5 separate regions of the Homo sapiens genome follow, and regions 1, 3, 4 and 5 are each linked to region 2. The links are contacts of gene promoters, found by promoter capture Hi-C in blood cells and fetal thymus (Javierre and others, 2016). All regions are on one chromosome and are shown on one strand. The core of a region is centred on a gene start or on the middle of the fragment in contact, and the rest is flanking DNA. Distances in the headings are between cores, read along the strand shown. Region 1 has its middle 16 kb from the start of ABHD11. Region 2 holds the start of VPS37D (VPS37D subunit of ESCRT-I). Region 3 overlaps MLXIPL (MLX interacting protein like). Region 4 holds the start of BCL7B (BAF chromatin remodeling complex subunit BCL7B). Region 5 overlaps BCL7B (BAF chromatin remodeling complex subunit BCL7B).

Region 1 (2,700 bases), core at 120-2,619, 87 kb before region 2:
TTTTGGTTTTGGTTTTTTAGTTTTTTGTTGTTGTTATTGTTTTCTTTGAGACGGGGTCTCGCTCTCTGGCCCAGGCTAGGATGCAGTGGTGCGATCTCAGCTCACTGTAACCTCCGCCTCCCGGGTTTAAGGAATTCTCCCGCTTCAGCCTCTCAAGTAGCTGGGATTACAGGCACCCACCCCCATGCCCAGCTAACTTTGGGGGTTTTTCTGAGACAGAGTTTACCTCTTGTCGCCCAGGCTGGAGTACAATGGCACGATCTCGGTTCACTGCAACCTCCACCTACCGGATTCAAGCAATTCTGCTGCCTCAGCCTCCCAAGTAGCTATGATTACAGGCACCCACCAGCACGCCTAATTTTTGTAATTTTAGTAGAGACAGTGTTTTGCCATGTTGGCCAGGCCAGTCTCGAACTCCTGACCTCAGGTGATCCTCCTGGCTTGGCCTCCCAAAGTGCTGGGGTTAGAGGCGTGAGCCACCATCCCCAGCCAAACTTTTTGTATTTTTAGTAGAGATGGTGTATCATCATGTTGGCCCATCTGCTCTCAAACTCCTAACCTCAAGTGATCTGCCCACCTTGGCCTCCCAAAGTGTGGGGATTACAGCCGTGAGCCACCACGCCTGGCCGGTTTTTGGTTTGGTTGGGTTTTTTAATTAACTTTTATTTTAGGTTTGGGGATACATATGAAGGTTTCTTACATAGGTAAACACGTGTCACAGGAGTTTGTTGAACAGATTATTTTGTCACCCAAGTAAGCCCAGTACCCAATAGTGATCTTTTCTGCTCCTCTCCCTCCTCCCACCCTCACCCTCAAGTAGACACCAGTGTCTGTTGTTTCCCTCTTTGTGTTCATAAGTTCTTATCATTTAGCTCCCACTTATAAGCAGGAACATACGCTATTTGGTTTTCTGCTCCTGTGTTAGTTTGCTAAGGATAACAGCCTCAAGCTCCATCCATGTTCCTGAAAAAGACACGTTCTCATTCTTTTTTATAGCTGCATAGTACTCCATGGTGTATATGTACCACATTTTCTTTATCCAGTCTATCACTGATGGGCATTTAGGTTGATTCCATGCCTTTGCTATTGTGAATAGTGCTGCAGGGCTGGTTGTTGTTGTTGTTGTTTTTTAATTACATTTCTTTTTTTTTTTTTTTTTTTTTTTTTTTTGAGATGGAGTCTCGCTTGGTTGCCCAGGCTGGAGTGCAGTGGCGCCATCTCAGCTCACTGCAAGCTCTGCCTCCCGGGTTCATGCTATCCTCCTGCCTCAGCCTCCCAAGTATCTGGGACTACAGGTGCCTGCCACCACACCCGGCTAATTTTTTGTTGTTGTTGTATTTTTAGCAGAGACGGGGTTTCACCATGTTAGCCAGGATGGTCTCGATCTCCTGACCTTGTGATCCGCCCACCTCGGCCTCCCAAAGTGCTCGGATTATAGGCATGAACCACTGCGCCCGGCCTAAATTTCTTTTTTTAAATAGAGACAGGGTTTTGTCATATTGCCCAGGCTGGTCTGGAACTCCTGGGCTCAAGTGATCCGCCCACCTCACCCTCCCAAAATGCTGGAATTACAAGCGTGAGCCACCATGCCCAACCTATAAGTATGCTTCTGAGTCTTAAATAAGTAAGTTTGAGATGGGCAGAGCTAAGAGGGGAAGCCTTCCCAAGCAGGATTCACTGATGGGCAACAGCAAGGAGAAAAATGATATGCACAAGGCAGAAAAATGATATGCACAAGAGTGAGCAGAGGCTGACCTGATTGAAGCAGGAAATTCATATCCAGAAACAGTAAGAGGCCAGGCGCGGTGGCTCATGCCTGTAATCCCGGCACTTTGGGAGGTCGAGGCAGGCGGATCACCTGAGGTCAGGAGCTCAAGACCAGCCTGGCCAACATGGTGAAACACCGTCTCTACTAAAAATACAAAAATTAGCCAGGCATGGTGGTGCGAGCCTGTAATCCCAGCTACTCAGAAGGCTGAGGAACAAGAATTGTTTGAACTTGGGAGGTGGCGGTTGCAGTGAGCTGAGATTGCACCACTGCACTCCAACCTGGGTGACAGAGTGAGACTCTGTCTCAGAAAAAAAAAGAACAAAGTTGGAGGACTCATACTTTCTGCTTTCAAAACTTACTACAAAGCTACAGTAATCAAAACAGTGGTACTGGCATGAAGACAGACATATAGACCAATGGAATAGAATAAAAAGCTCAGAAATAAACACTCATATATGAAGTCAAATAATTTTCAATAAGGATACCAAAACCACTCAGTGAGGAATGGGCAATCTTTTCACAGATAATGCTGGGAAAACTGGATATTTGCATGCAAAAAAATGAAGTTGGTTCCTTAACACCATATAAAAAAATTTACTCAAAATGGATCAAAGACCTAAATATAAGATCTAAAACTATAAAACTTAGATGGCTGATCAACCAAGTTTATAGGATATTATAAATCCTTTGTTGTCATTTCAACAGTGTTCACACAATCTTCACCAGGAGTAGTTTCCATCTCAAGAAACCACTTTCTGGCTGGGCGCGGTGGCTCACGCCTGTAATGCCAGCAATTTGGGAGGCTGAGGCAGGTGGATCACTTGAGGTCAGGAGTTTGAGACCAGCCTGGCCAACATGGTGAAACCCTGTCTCTACTAAAAATACAAAAATTAGCTGGGCATGCTGGCACGTGCCTGTAGTCCCAGCTA
Region 2 (2,700 bases), core at 44-2,543:
ACAAATGTTAGTTAATTTTTAATTTTTCAATTAATATGTCTGCTCAGGTCCCGGAGGAGTGCCCCTCCCTCCTCTGCCCCATTTTCCATGCATGGACAGCTTCCCTCTCACTCCAGGCCTTTGTCTGTTTCCTCCTCAGGTGTTTGCACCGAAAACACTCCCACCCCCTGCTCATCCTCTCCAGAGGGGTGTCTGCACCCCGTCCCCTCACAGCACCCCCTCGGGTCACCCTCTCTTCCCTTCCCACCCCTTCCTCTGCCTCCAGTGGAATCCTCACACCCCAAGGAATACACACCCCCTTTTCCTCCCTGCTCCGGGCTTACAGCAGCCCCGGCCCTGGAGAAGGCTTTTTCCTTGTCTCTAGCAGGGCCCAACCTCCCCTCCCTGCCCCTGGAGAACGCACTCCCCTCCATCTGTCCCTTGTGGGATGCACAAGCCCCTCCTCGCCTGCCTGCTTTCAACACACACTTGCCCTTTCTGCCCCCCACAGACAACCAGCCCGGGCCTATCTCCCGTGAAATATACAACTTTCTCTTACGGTGGCCTATGCAATACACACGGCAGCTTCCAGCACCCCTCCCCAACGCCAGGCACAAAGCCCCCTCTTGCGCCCCCAGAATGCGTGAACCCCCAACGGCCCCTCCAGGTGTCAGACAGGCCCCTAGTTCTCCCAGTGGAAGGCGCCTCCTCTTTCTGGCCCTTACAGAACGTGGGTGTGCGAGCCAGGGCCCCCCACAACACAGCCCCCCGGAACACACCTCCCCGGAGCATCCGCTGTAGGACACGCCTCGCGGCCATCCTGGGGGTGCACAGGCGCCCCCCTCGGGTCCCCGGCGCCCCACCCGCCCCAGGCCAGCTCCAAGCGCCCCCTCCCCCGGGGGTGGCTCCGCGGGGCCCACTCGTACGTGCCAGGCTCCGCGCCCACGGGCGGCCCCGCGGCCCGGCCCGCGCGGCCCTTCCCTCGAGCGGCAGGTCCCGCAGGCCGCTGCCCGTCCCCCGCGCCCCCCGCTCGAGCCCCCCGCGCTACCTTCCTGCTGAGCCGCACGATCCGGTCCAGCTTGGGCTCATCCTGAAGCAGGTCCCGGAGCTGCCCGGTGCTGAGGATCCCAAAGCGCCCCGGGCTGCCGGGCTCCGGCCCCGCCCGCGCCGCCCGGGCCCGGTACATGCCGCCCGCCCGCGCCCCCAGCTCGGCTGCTGGCTCGGCCCGCTCGGCCCGCTCCGCCCCGGCTCCGCTCCGCTCCGCTCCGCTCCGGCTCCAGGATCCGCTCCGGCTCCGGCCGCACGCACCGCTCCGCCGCCAGGGGGCGCCCCTCCCGCTCTTAAAGGAGCCGCGGCGCCGGGGCTGGGGGTGGGGCAGGGAGGAGGCGGGCCGCACCCCTCCCCGCCCCGGCCGCGCCGCGCCGCCTCCAGCACCCCAGGATCGCCCAGCAACCCGATCTCCCCGCCCCTCCCGGAATCTGAGCCGCCCTGCTCTGCGCCCCAGCACCGGCCCTGGCTCACCACGCCCCCAGGCACGGACTCTCCCACCCCGGGCGGTTACAATTTGCAGAGCCCGTGCACGTTTTCCCCTCGGATGGCAACAACAAATTTCTGACTTTGGCCGGGCGCCGAGGGCTCCTGCCTTGCAGCCCTCCCCAAGCCTCAGTTTTCTCTTCTGTAAAATGGGGTTGGAGATGGTGAGCGCTGACTTGCTGGCCGGGCGCGGTGGCTCTCTCCTGTAATTCCAGCGATTTGGGAGACCGAGAAGGGAGGATCGCTTGAGGCCAGGAGTTTGAGACCAGCCTGGGCAACATAACAAGACCCCCGTCTCTATTTAAAAAAATTTAAAAATTGTCAAAAGGGTGAAAAGAGGCCGGGCGCGGTGGCTCACGCCTGTAATCCCAGCACTTTGGGAGGCCGAGGCGGGCGGATCACGAGGTCAGGAGATCGAGACCATCCTGGCTAACATGGTGAAACCCCGTCTCTACTAAAAATACAAAAAAAATTAGCCGGGCGTGGTGGCGGGCGCCTGTAGTCCCAGCTACTCGCGAGGCTGAGGCAGGAGAATGGCGTGAACCCGGGAGGCGGAGCTTGCAGTGAGCGGAGATCGCGCCACTGCACTCCAGGCTGGGTGACAGAGCGAGACTCCGTCTCAAAAAAAAAAAAAAAAAGAGTGAAAAGAACAATTTTTAAAAGTATTTAAATGCTTTTAAAAAGTATCCGGACATGGTGGCATGCGTCTGTAGTCCTAGCTACTCAGGAGGCAGAGGTGGGAGATTGCTTGAGCTCAGTTTTGAGACCAGCCTGGGCAACACAGCAAGACCCCATCTCTATAAAAGTAAAATTAAAATGCTGAGGGATAGTGATATGGCTAGCAATGTTATAATGAATACACATAGTAGGTCAATACCCACTTGTTATTTTAGACATGCAGAAGCATCACAGAGGCCGGGCACGGTAGCCCATGCCTGTAATCCCAGCACTTTGGGAGTCCAAGGTGGGTGAATCATTTGAGGTCAGAAGTTTGAGACCAACCTGACCAACAAAAATTAGCCGGGCGTGGTGGTGGGCGCCTGTAATTCCAGCTACTCAGGTGGCTGAGGCAGGAGAATCGCTTGAACCTGGGAGGCGGAGGTTGTAGTGAGCCGAGATAGCACCACTCCACTCCAGCCTGGGCGACAGAGACTCCGTGCTCCGTCTCAAACAAAGAAAAAAAAGAAA
Region 3 (2,700 bases), core at 27-2,526, 66 kb after region 2:
TCTCGTTGCCCCCAAGAGCCTCCCACTGGGGAGGTCTGGCTGGAAACCCAGGGAGGGGACCAGAACTCTATGGAGGCAGGAGGCTTAGTGAGGGGTGCTCAGGGAGGCAGCCAGAGGCAGAGGAGCTCAGGGAGGGGATGACAGGTCAGGTCCGTGGAGGGGACAGAGGCTAGGGAGGGACTTGGGCCCTGGTGAGCAGCTCGGGCTGGGAAGCAACTTCTCTCAAGGCAGGGTGGGGACAGGCCTGGGCAACGATGGTAAGCGGGTGGCTGGTGACTCAGGGATGAGAGGGCCTTGCGGCCCCATGACCCCTGCCCGGGACCCAGGGAGTGGGCAGCAGCTGTGAGCAGGGAGGAGCCCTAGGCCCTCAGCGGCCTGGGGCCAGGCACAGCATGAGGCTGATTCTAGAGCCAGGGCCTCGGGGACCTAGTGACAGGAACTGTGGACCCTGGGAGATGGGGGAGCAGCAGTGACCACTCGCCATCTCCCACCTGGTCCCCCTTTTTTTGAGATGGAATCTTGCTCTGTTGCCCAGGCTGGAGTGCAGTGGCATCATCTTGGCTCACTGCAACCCCCACCTCCCGGGTTCAAGCAATTCTCCTGTCTCAGCCTCCAGAATAGCTGGGACTACAGGCGCCCGCCACCACGCCTGACTAATTTTTGTATTTTTTTTTTTTTTAGTAGAAACGGGGTTTCCCCTCATTGGCCAGGCTGGTCTCGAACTCCTGACCTCAGGTGATCCGTCCACCTCAGCCTCTCAAAGTGCTGGGATTACAGGCGTGAGCCACCGCGCCTGGCCTGGTCCCCCTTTTAAAGAAAGGCAGCAGGGGGGCCTGTAATCCCAGCTACTCAGGAGGCTGAGGCAAGGAGAATTGTTTGAACCTGGGAGGCTGCAGTGAGCCGAGATCGTGCCACTGTACCCCAGCCTGGGCTACAGAGCGAGACTCCATCTCAAAAAAAAAAAAAGAAAGAAAGAGAGAAAGAGAGAGAGAGAGATGAAAGAAAGAGAGAGAGGGAAAGAAAGGAAGGAAGGAAGGAAGGAAGGAAGGAAGGAAGGCAGGCAGGCAGGCAGGCAGGCAGGCAGGCAGGAAGGCAGGCAGGCAGGCAGGCAGGCAGGTGGACAGCAAGAAGACACCGTTTTGCCATGAGGTTAGACACGCGGACAGGCACAGAGCAGACGCACGTGCACCATGCTATCATGGCAGGACAGGTTCACATGGCCTCAGACGGAGCGACAGACACCCAGAGGGTAGGCAGAGGCTGCGTGCAGACCCCATGCTGAGACTCCAGGGTTCAGCGACTGCAACACACAGGCTCTGCACCCTCCTGCAAAGCAAAGCCACTGACGACACACAGGGCCGGGCGCGGTGACTCACTCCTGTCATCCCAGCACTTTAGGAGGCCAAAGCAGGAGGATCGCTTGAGCTCAGGAGTTTGAGACCAGCCCGGGCAACATGGCAAAACCCCATTTTTGCTAAAAAATACAAAAATTAGCTGAGTGTGGTGGTGCATGCCTGTAATCCCAGCTACTCGGGAAGCCGAGGCATGAGAATCGTTTGAACCCAGGAGGTGGAGGTTGCAGTGAGCCGAGATGGTGCCACCGCATTCCAACCTGGGTGACAGCAAGGCACGGTGGCTAACTTCCTCCCCTCGCCCTGCACCCCTTTCCCACCCTGGCATTCTCTCTGGGCACCTCCTTTCTGTACCAGCAGATCAGGGAAAGGGAGCCACCAGGGGATGGGAAGGGGGACTTCCTGAGCTAAGCCTGGTGCTGTGCAGGGGAGGGGACTGCTTCCTGGGGTTCCTGTTCACACCCACAGTCCCCTGCTGTCTCCCACGCAAGCTCATTATAATCCCAGCACTTTAGGAGGCTGAGGCAGGAGGATGGCTTGAGGCCAGAAGTTTGAGACCAGCCTGGGCAACATAGCACGATTCTATCTCTGGGGGATGGGGTTGGGGGTGAAGACACAAACACACACACACACACACACACACACACACACACACACACTTGACCCTGCAGTGGGTTCTGGGTTTGGGGTGACCTTATCTAACTGACTCCTGGTCTCCTTGGAGGTGGCTCCTGGGAGGCAGACTTGAGCAGCTCTCCTGGCAGGGGGGTGGGAGGGAAAAAACTGGGAGCTGGGGCCCACCCAGGTCTGTGGGGAGTTGTCACGGTGGGGTCGGAACTGCCCAGACTAAGAGGCCTCAGGAGCTGGCACGGATCACAGGCTGGTCAGGGTCAGAGAAAGGTGCCCGGAAGGGAGCGGGTGGGCGGGCGGCGCCCAGGCCCGGGATGTGGTCAGGCCGTGGCCAGCTGCTTCCCAAAACCAGAATAGCCCAGGACTTACACAACCCGCACCCCAAACAATCCGCTACTGCCTCCCCCAGCTCTCGCAGGCTTCCCAGACCCCTTGCCCCACCCCACTCAGAGCCCACCCTTAGGCCCCTCTCGCCCCCACCCCACTCAGAGCCCACCCTTAGGGCCCCTCTCGCCCCCACCCCTTTCGGAGCCCAGCCTTAGGCCCCTCTCGCCCCCACCCCACTCGGAGCCCACCCTTAGGCCCCCTCTCATCCCCACCCTACTTGGAGCCCACCCTTAGCCCCTCTTGCCCCCACCCCACTTGGAGCCCAGTCTTAGGTCCCCCTTCACCCCCCCCCCACTTGGAGCCCACCCGTATCCCCCTCTTGCCCACACCC
Region 4 (2,700 bases), core at 2-2,501, 110 kb after region 2:
AAGACCAGCCTGACCAACATGGTGAAACCCCATCTCCACTAAAAATAAAAAAATTAGCTGGGTGTGATGGCGGACGACTATAATCCCAGCTACTCGGAAGGCTGAGACAGAAAATTGCTTGAACCCGGGAGGCGGAGATTGTAGTGAGCCGAGATCACACCACTGTACTCCAGCCTGGGCAAAAGAGCGAGACTCCGTCTCAAAAAAAAAAAGGCCAGGCGTGGTGGCTCACGCCTGTAATCCCAGCACTTTGAGAGGCCAAGGCGGGCAGATCACGAGGTCAGGAGTTCCAGACCAGCCTGACCAACATGATAAAACCCCGTCTCTACTAAAATTACAAAAATTAGCTGGGCGTGGTGGCACCCGCCTGTAATCCCAGCTACTCAGGAGGCTGAGGCAGAAGAACCGCTTGAACCCGGGAGGCGGAGGTTGCAGTGAGCGGAGATCACACCACTGCACTCCAGCCTGAGTCACAGAGCGAGACTCCGTCTCAATAAATAAACAAACTGGAAGCTCTTTGAAACCAAAACCACGTATGTCTTCAGCTTTAGGTACAGAGTCTTGCACAAAATAGACATCTTTTTATTTATTTACTTTAGAGACGGGGTCTCGTTTAGACATGGGGTCTCCATATGTTGCCCAGGCTGGAGTGCAGTGGCTATTCACAGGTGCGATCATATCATAGCTGACGGCAGCCTCAAATTCCTGGGGTCAAGTGATCCTCCCGCTTCAGCCTCCCAAATACTTGGGACTACTAGATACTCGAGAAAAGGCAAGAATGTGGTCTGAATGCTGGGAAAGCAGTTCATCTGGTAAAGAGAGGAGGGGATTCCAGGTGAGGAACAGGTGTGTGCAAAGACCGGAAGCCATCCTTAAGAAAGGCGTGGTTGGAGCACAGCGTAGGAGCCAGAGGGCAAAGGTGCTGGGCAGGAGAGGCGGGAGGACAGAGATGGCGCAGGAGTGCGGTTCCACAGGGTCAGGTTCCTAACACGCTGGCCAGAGCAGGGAGCCGACCTCCAAACTCTCAGGGAAGAGAACCAGGTTGCCCACCGGCGGCACCTCGCACCTCGCCCTGACCACAAGCACGTGCGCCCAACCCGCCTCGCACCCCGGCCCGGGTAGGGGGCTCAGGGGACTCCCGGGGCACTCAGGAGGGACGCCCCGGGCGGGGCGCGCAGGCGCGCTGAGGCCGTGAGCCCCAAGGGGCGGGCGGGTGCGCGCGCTTTCTCGCGCACGCGCGCACGGAGGGGGCGACGGCCGCTGTGACGCTGCGGCGGCGGCGGGCGGGCGGCGGCGCGTGAGGCGCGCGATCCCCGGTGTCTTGGGAGCAGTGCCCCGGCCCCCGCCGCTCCCGCCGCCGCCATGTCGGGCCGGTCGGTCCGGGCGGAGACCCGCAGCCGGGCCAAGGACGACATCAAGAAGGTGATGGCGGCCATCGAGAAAGTGCGGAAATGGTGAGGGGCCGGAGCTTAGGGGGCTGGCGGGGGTCGCGGATCCAGGCCCTGAGGAGCGTGGGACTGGCGGGTCAGGTGGGAGCCGACCGGCCGGCGCTGGGGGAGGGGGGTGCGGGAGAAGGCGGGAGGAGGGCGCCGCTGGCGTCGGCGTGAGGTCAGAGGGCGCGCCGGCCGCGGCCAATCAGCGGTCCTCCCGGCTCGCGGGCCCGCCCACCTGCTGCGGCTGCTGCCGCGCGCCGCCTGGGAGGGGATTCCGGCTTCCGGCCCGGACTGGAGCTGCCTGGCGTCGGTGCCCGCGCCCGGCCCAGCCCGGGGCCCGCCCTCCCCTCTTCCTGGGCAGTGGCCCCGCCTGCGTTTCCAGGCTTCCTCTTGATAATAGCGAGTAGCCCTGGAGTGGTGTCAGCCCGCCAGGCTGAGCGCTCTGCGTATTCAGGCGTTGAAGTTGGGTGAGTTTCTGGGTTAGTCCATCTGTCAAGGGAGCAAGCCTGGTGTCATCCAGAGGGATACCCCTCCCTTTCCCCCAGTAACCGGCCCCTGCGCCGCGAGCTTGGTAGGCATTTTCTCTTGCTGCCCCGGCGGCTGTCAGGAGAGTCCTTTGCAAACTATGTACCAGCCTCCCTCTAATTTCCCTGCTTCTGCTCTTGTTCATTCCCCAGTCCGTTCATCATTTGCACTGTGTGATTTTATTTTTCTCACTTCCAAGTAGCAGAGTGGTCTTTTTAAAGTGCACATCCTTACTTGGGAGGCTGTGGTGGGAGGATTGCTGGGACCCAGGAGTTGGAGGCTGCAGTGAGCTATGATCGTGCCACGGCACTCCAGCCTGGGCTACGGAGAGAGACCCCGTGTCTAAAATGTTCATGGAAGATGCCGATTGAGCCCCTGTTTAGTATCCGGAACTCCGATACATACTATATCGGTGTGTATCGGAGTCATCACATTAAACTTTCACAGCCAACTTCGTCAGCTCTTTTGTATAGCCAATTACTACTAATAATTTAAAAACCCAGGTCTGGCTAGGTGAGGTGGCTCAGGCATGTAATCCCAGCACTTTGGGAGGCTGAGGTGGGCGGATCGCTTGAGGCCAGGAGTTTGAGACCAGCCTGGGCAACATAGTGAGACCCCGTCTCTACAGAAAATAAAAGTTCAAGTAGATGTTACCTCCCGCCAGGAAGCTTTCCTTAACTCCTCCCATCCCTTTACCTCCTTTAAGGTCGTTGGTACGTTGGACTTTATTTGTGTGTTTATC
Region 5 (2,700 bases), core at 108-2,607, 130 kb after region 2:
CAAAAGTGACAGTTTTATTCATTTGGTGACAAAATGCTACTTCCATTTTAGTGTGGGTATTAAAGGTCTTTATAGGAGTCAAGACTAGCATGAGTTTATGACTTTCTCTTCAAAACCAGATTGGAGCTAACCCAGCGTGTAGTTATTCCTTCCCCACCTCTTTCCCAGGCCCCACCAAGGTCAACCATGTGCTGTTGGAAAGGGAACACCAACGTGTGTTCAGTAGTCAGAAGGCTCTGGGAGACATATGAGGCTCCATTTCCTCAGTCTGGCCACCATCTCCTCCTTTTCATTTAGTAAACACTTAATGAACTCCCACTGTATGCAGGTACCGTGCGTTGCACTGGGGAGTCAAGGACAAGTGAGCCACAGAGCCTGTCCACAGAGGCTCATGGGAGGAAGCACGTGTGCGAAATGATAAATGCAGGCGTGCACAGGCTATCACAGGAGAGTAAGAGAGGGTGGGCATTTCCACCTATGCGAGCCAGGGAGGTAGGGCTCCGCGGAAGAAGTGATGTCGGGGCTGTGTTGGGAGGTCTGAGGCTTTCCAGGACAAGAGAAGGCAGCCTAGCCAAGGAACAGCTGGGCAGAAGCACCCATGCATGACGAAGCTCTTGGGTTAGGGTCCAGTCTGCCTGGAGCTGAGGATGCTTGTAGGAGAACAGTAGGCACTGAGGCCAGAGATCAGAAAGGACTTCCTATGTTGCGATAAGGCCAGCTCCTGCCTCTCCTAAGAAGTACTGGGTATGGCTGGGCGTGGTGGCTCATGCCTGTAATCCCAGCACTTTGGGAGGCTGAGGCAGGTGGATTACCTGAGGTCAGGAGTTCGAGACCAGCCTGACCAACATGGTGAAACCCCGTCTCTAATAAAAATACAAAATTACCCAGGCGTGGTGGCGCAAGCCTGTAATCCCAGCTACTCAAGAGGCTGAGGCAGGAGAATCAGTTGAACCCAGGAGGCAGAGGTTGTGGTGAGCTGAGATAGCACCATTGCACTCCAGCCTGGGCAACAAGAGCGAAACTCGGTCTCAAAAAAAAAAAAAAAAAAAGTACTGGGTATGACATTTCTCCCTTAGGCAGCAGTGGAGCGTCGAAGGGTTTAGAAAGGTCTCTCTGGCAGTGGTTTGCAGTTCAGTTTAAGGTACGTGAGACTGGAGGCAGGGCAGTGAGGTATGTGGCTGTTGCAGGAGGCCAGGCTGGAGATGATGAGGCTTGAACTGAAGCAGTAGGAGAGGAAGGAATGAGCACAAATGATACCAGAGCAGGAGGGGGAAACACTTTGGTGACTGGCTACTGTAGGTGCAGCGGAGGAATGCATTGGTGACTCTTACTTTTTTTCTTTTTTTTTAATTTTAATTTTTATTTTTTGAGACGGAGTCTCGCCATGTCACCCAGGCTACAGTGCAATGGCACGATCTCAGCTCACTGCAACCTCCACCTCCCGGGTTCAAGCGATTTTCCTGCCTCAGCCTCCCAAGTAACTGGGATTACAGGCGCGTGCTATCATGCCCGGCTAATTTTTGTATTTTCAGTAGAGACGGGGTTTCACCATGTTGGCCAGGCTGGTCTCAAACTTCTGACCTCAAGTGATCCGCCCACCTTGGCCTCCCAAAGTGCTGGGATTACAGGCGTGAGCCACTGCACTCGGCCTGGTAACTCTTTTTTTTTTTTTTTTTTTTTTTTTTGAGACAGAGTCTCGCTCTGTTGCTCAGGCTGGAGTGCAATGGCGCGATCTCGGCTCACTGCAAGCTCTGCCTTCTAGGTTCATGCCATTCTTCTGCCTCAGCCTCCTGAGTAGCTGGAACTACAGGTGCCCACCACCACAGCCGGCTAATTTTTTGTAATTTTAGTAGAGACGGGGTTTCACCGTGTTAGCCAGGATGGTCTCGATGTCCTGACCTTGTGATCTGCCCACCTCGGCCTCCCAAAGTGCTGGGATTACAGGCGTGAGCCACCGTGCCTGGCCTCGGCCTGGTAACTCTTAAGTTTTGCACCTTGATGGTGACTTTAAGCCTTCAGGCAGAACTCCCAGGTGCTAATCCGTCAGTCCGGCAGCCGAAGCCTGAGCTCACCACCTTCAGACACCACCAGCCTCCTTCAGATGCCCAAGGATGCCTGACAAATGTCATTTTCTACACATCTTATGATGTGAGAAGGATTGAGAAGTACTGACCAGAGACACAGCTACATCCCTCCCTTCCACAAGCTGCAATCAGTGGATAATAAAGAAGAGTTTAATAAGCATATCCTGACCTTCCTAAAGTGTAATGTTGCATAAACATAAAGATTCTGGCTGCCTCTGGTGCTTAGAATCTATGTCGTGTAGGCCGGGCACAATGATTATTATACTCAGTTGTATCCTTGGCTGCCTAAAGTGATGCCAGGCCCTTGGCTCTGTCCAGAGTTCCTCTTGAGGAAAATGACCACGCTCAGCTGCTGCCTTTGTTCTGTTTGGTTTTCAGACGAAAACAGCAACCAGAGTTCCGTGTCTGACGTCTATCAGCTTAAGGTGGACAGCAGCACCAACTCAAGCCCCAGCCCCCAGCAGAGTGAGTCCCTGAGCCCAGCACACACCTCCGACTTCCGCACGGATGACTCCCAGCCCCCAACGCTGGGCCAGGAGATCCTGGAGGGTGAGTCGTGGTTGGCCGAGGATGAGTTTCCTAGAAGGGCCTTGCTTTCTGCTCTTGTTGTGTCTCG

Evidence for each region. Contacts are between HindIII fragments. The CHiCAGO score rates a contact against its expected background, and 5 or more counts as called.
Region 1: a contact is called between a fragment that was not itself captured here and the fragment with the promoter of VPS37D in region 2, in 2 of 17 cell types (neutrophils and activated CD4 T cells). The highest score is 5.7, in neutrophils.
Region 3: a contact is called between a fragment that was not itself captured here and the fragment with the promoter of VPS37D in region 2, in 17 of 17 cell types (erythroblasts, endothelial precursors, naive B cells and 14 more). The highest score is 13.5, in erythroblasts.
Region 4: a contact is called between the fragment with the promoter of BCL7B here and the fragment with the promoter of VPS37D in region 2, in 17 of 17 cell types (monocytes, neutrophils, naive CD4 T cells and 14 more). The highest score is 12.5, in monocytes.
Region 5: a contact is called between a fragment that was not itself captured here and the fragment with the promoter of VPS37D in region 2, in 11 of 17 cell types (monocytes, total CD8 T cells, naive B cells and 8 more). The highest score is 7.8, in monocytes.

Annotation. Positions count from the first base shown.
Region 1 is chr7:73,753,107-73,755,806 of GRCh38, reverse strand. No RefSeq gene overlaps it. Among named protein-coding and RNA genes, the nearest start is that of ABHD11, 16 kb to the right of the region's middle. The HindIII fragment of the contact is 4,808 bases long and covers 1-2,700 here.
Region 2 is chr7:73,666,424-73,669,123 of GRCh38, reverse strand. VPS37D (VPS37D subunit of ESCRT-I) reads right to left here and starts at 1,293. Exons shown (of 4, transcript NM_001077621.2): 1 at 1,028-1,293. The coding sequence starts at 1,165. RefSeq lists an enhancer at 136-1,131 and silencers at 1,113-1,412, 1,523-1,622, 1,633-1,682. The HindIII fragment of the contact is 11,431 bases long and covers 1-2,700 here.
Region 3 is chr7:73,600,488-73,603,187 of GRCh38, reverse strand. All of the region lies in intron 7 of MLXIPL (MLX interacting protein like), which reads left to right. Among named protein-coding and RNA genes, the nearest start is that of MLXIPL, 23 kb to the left of the region's middle. RefSeq lists silencers at 35-329, 1,055-1,349 and enhancers at 35-329, 1-358. The HindIII fragment of the contact is 3,425 bases long and covers 1-2,700 here.
Region 4 is chr7:73,556,241-73,558,940 of GRCh38, reverse strand. BCL7B (BAF chromatin remodeling complex subunit BCL7B) reads left to right here and starts at 1,251. Exons shown (of 6, transcript NM_001707.4): 1 at 1,251-1,454. The coding sequence starts at 1,363. RefSeq lists silencers at 976-1,215, 1,266-1,375, 1,396-1,445, 1,466-1,915. The HindIII fragment of the contact is 11,403 bases long and covers 1-2,628 here.
Region 5 is chr7:73,539,815-73,542,514 of GRCh38, reverse strand. It overlaps BCL7B (BAF chromatin remodeling complex subunit BCL7B), which reads left to right. Exons shown (of 6, transcript NM_001707.4): 4 at 2,463-2,633. Among named protein-coding and RNA genes, the nearest start is that of BCL7B, 17 kb to the left of the region's middle. The HindIII fragment of the contact is 3,180 bases long and covers 1-2,700 here.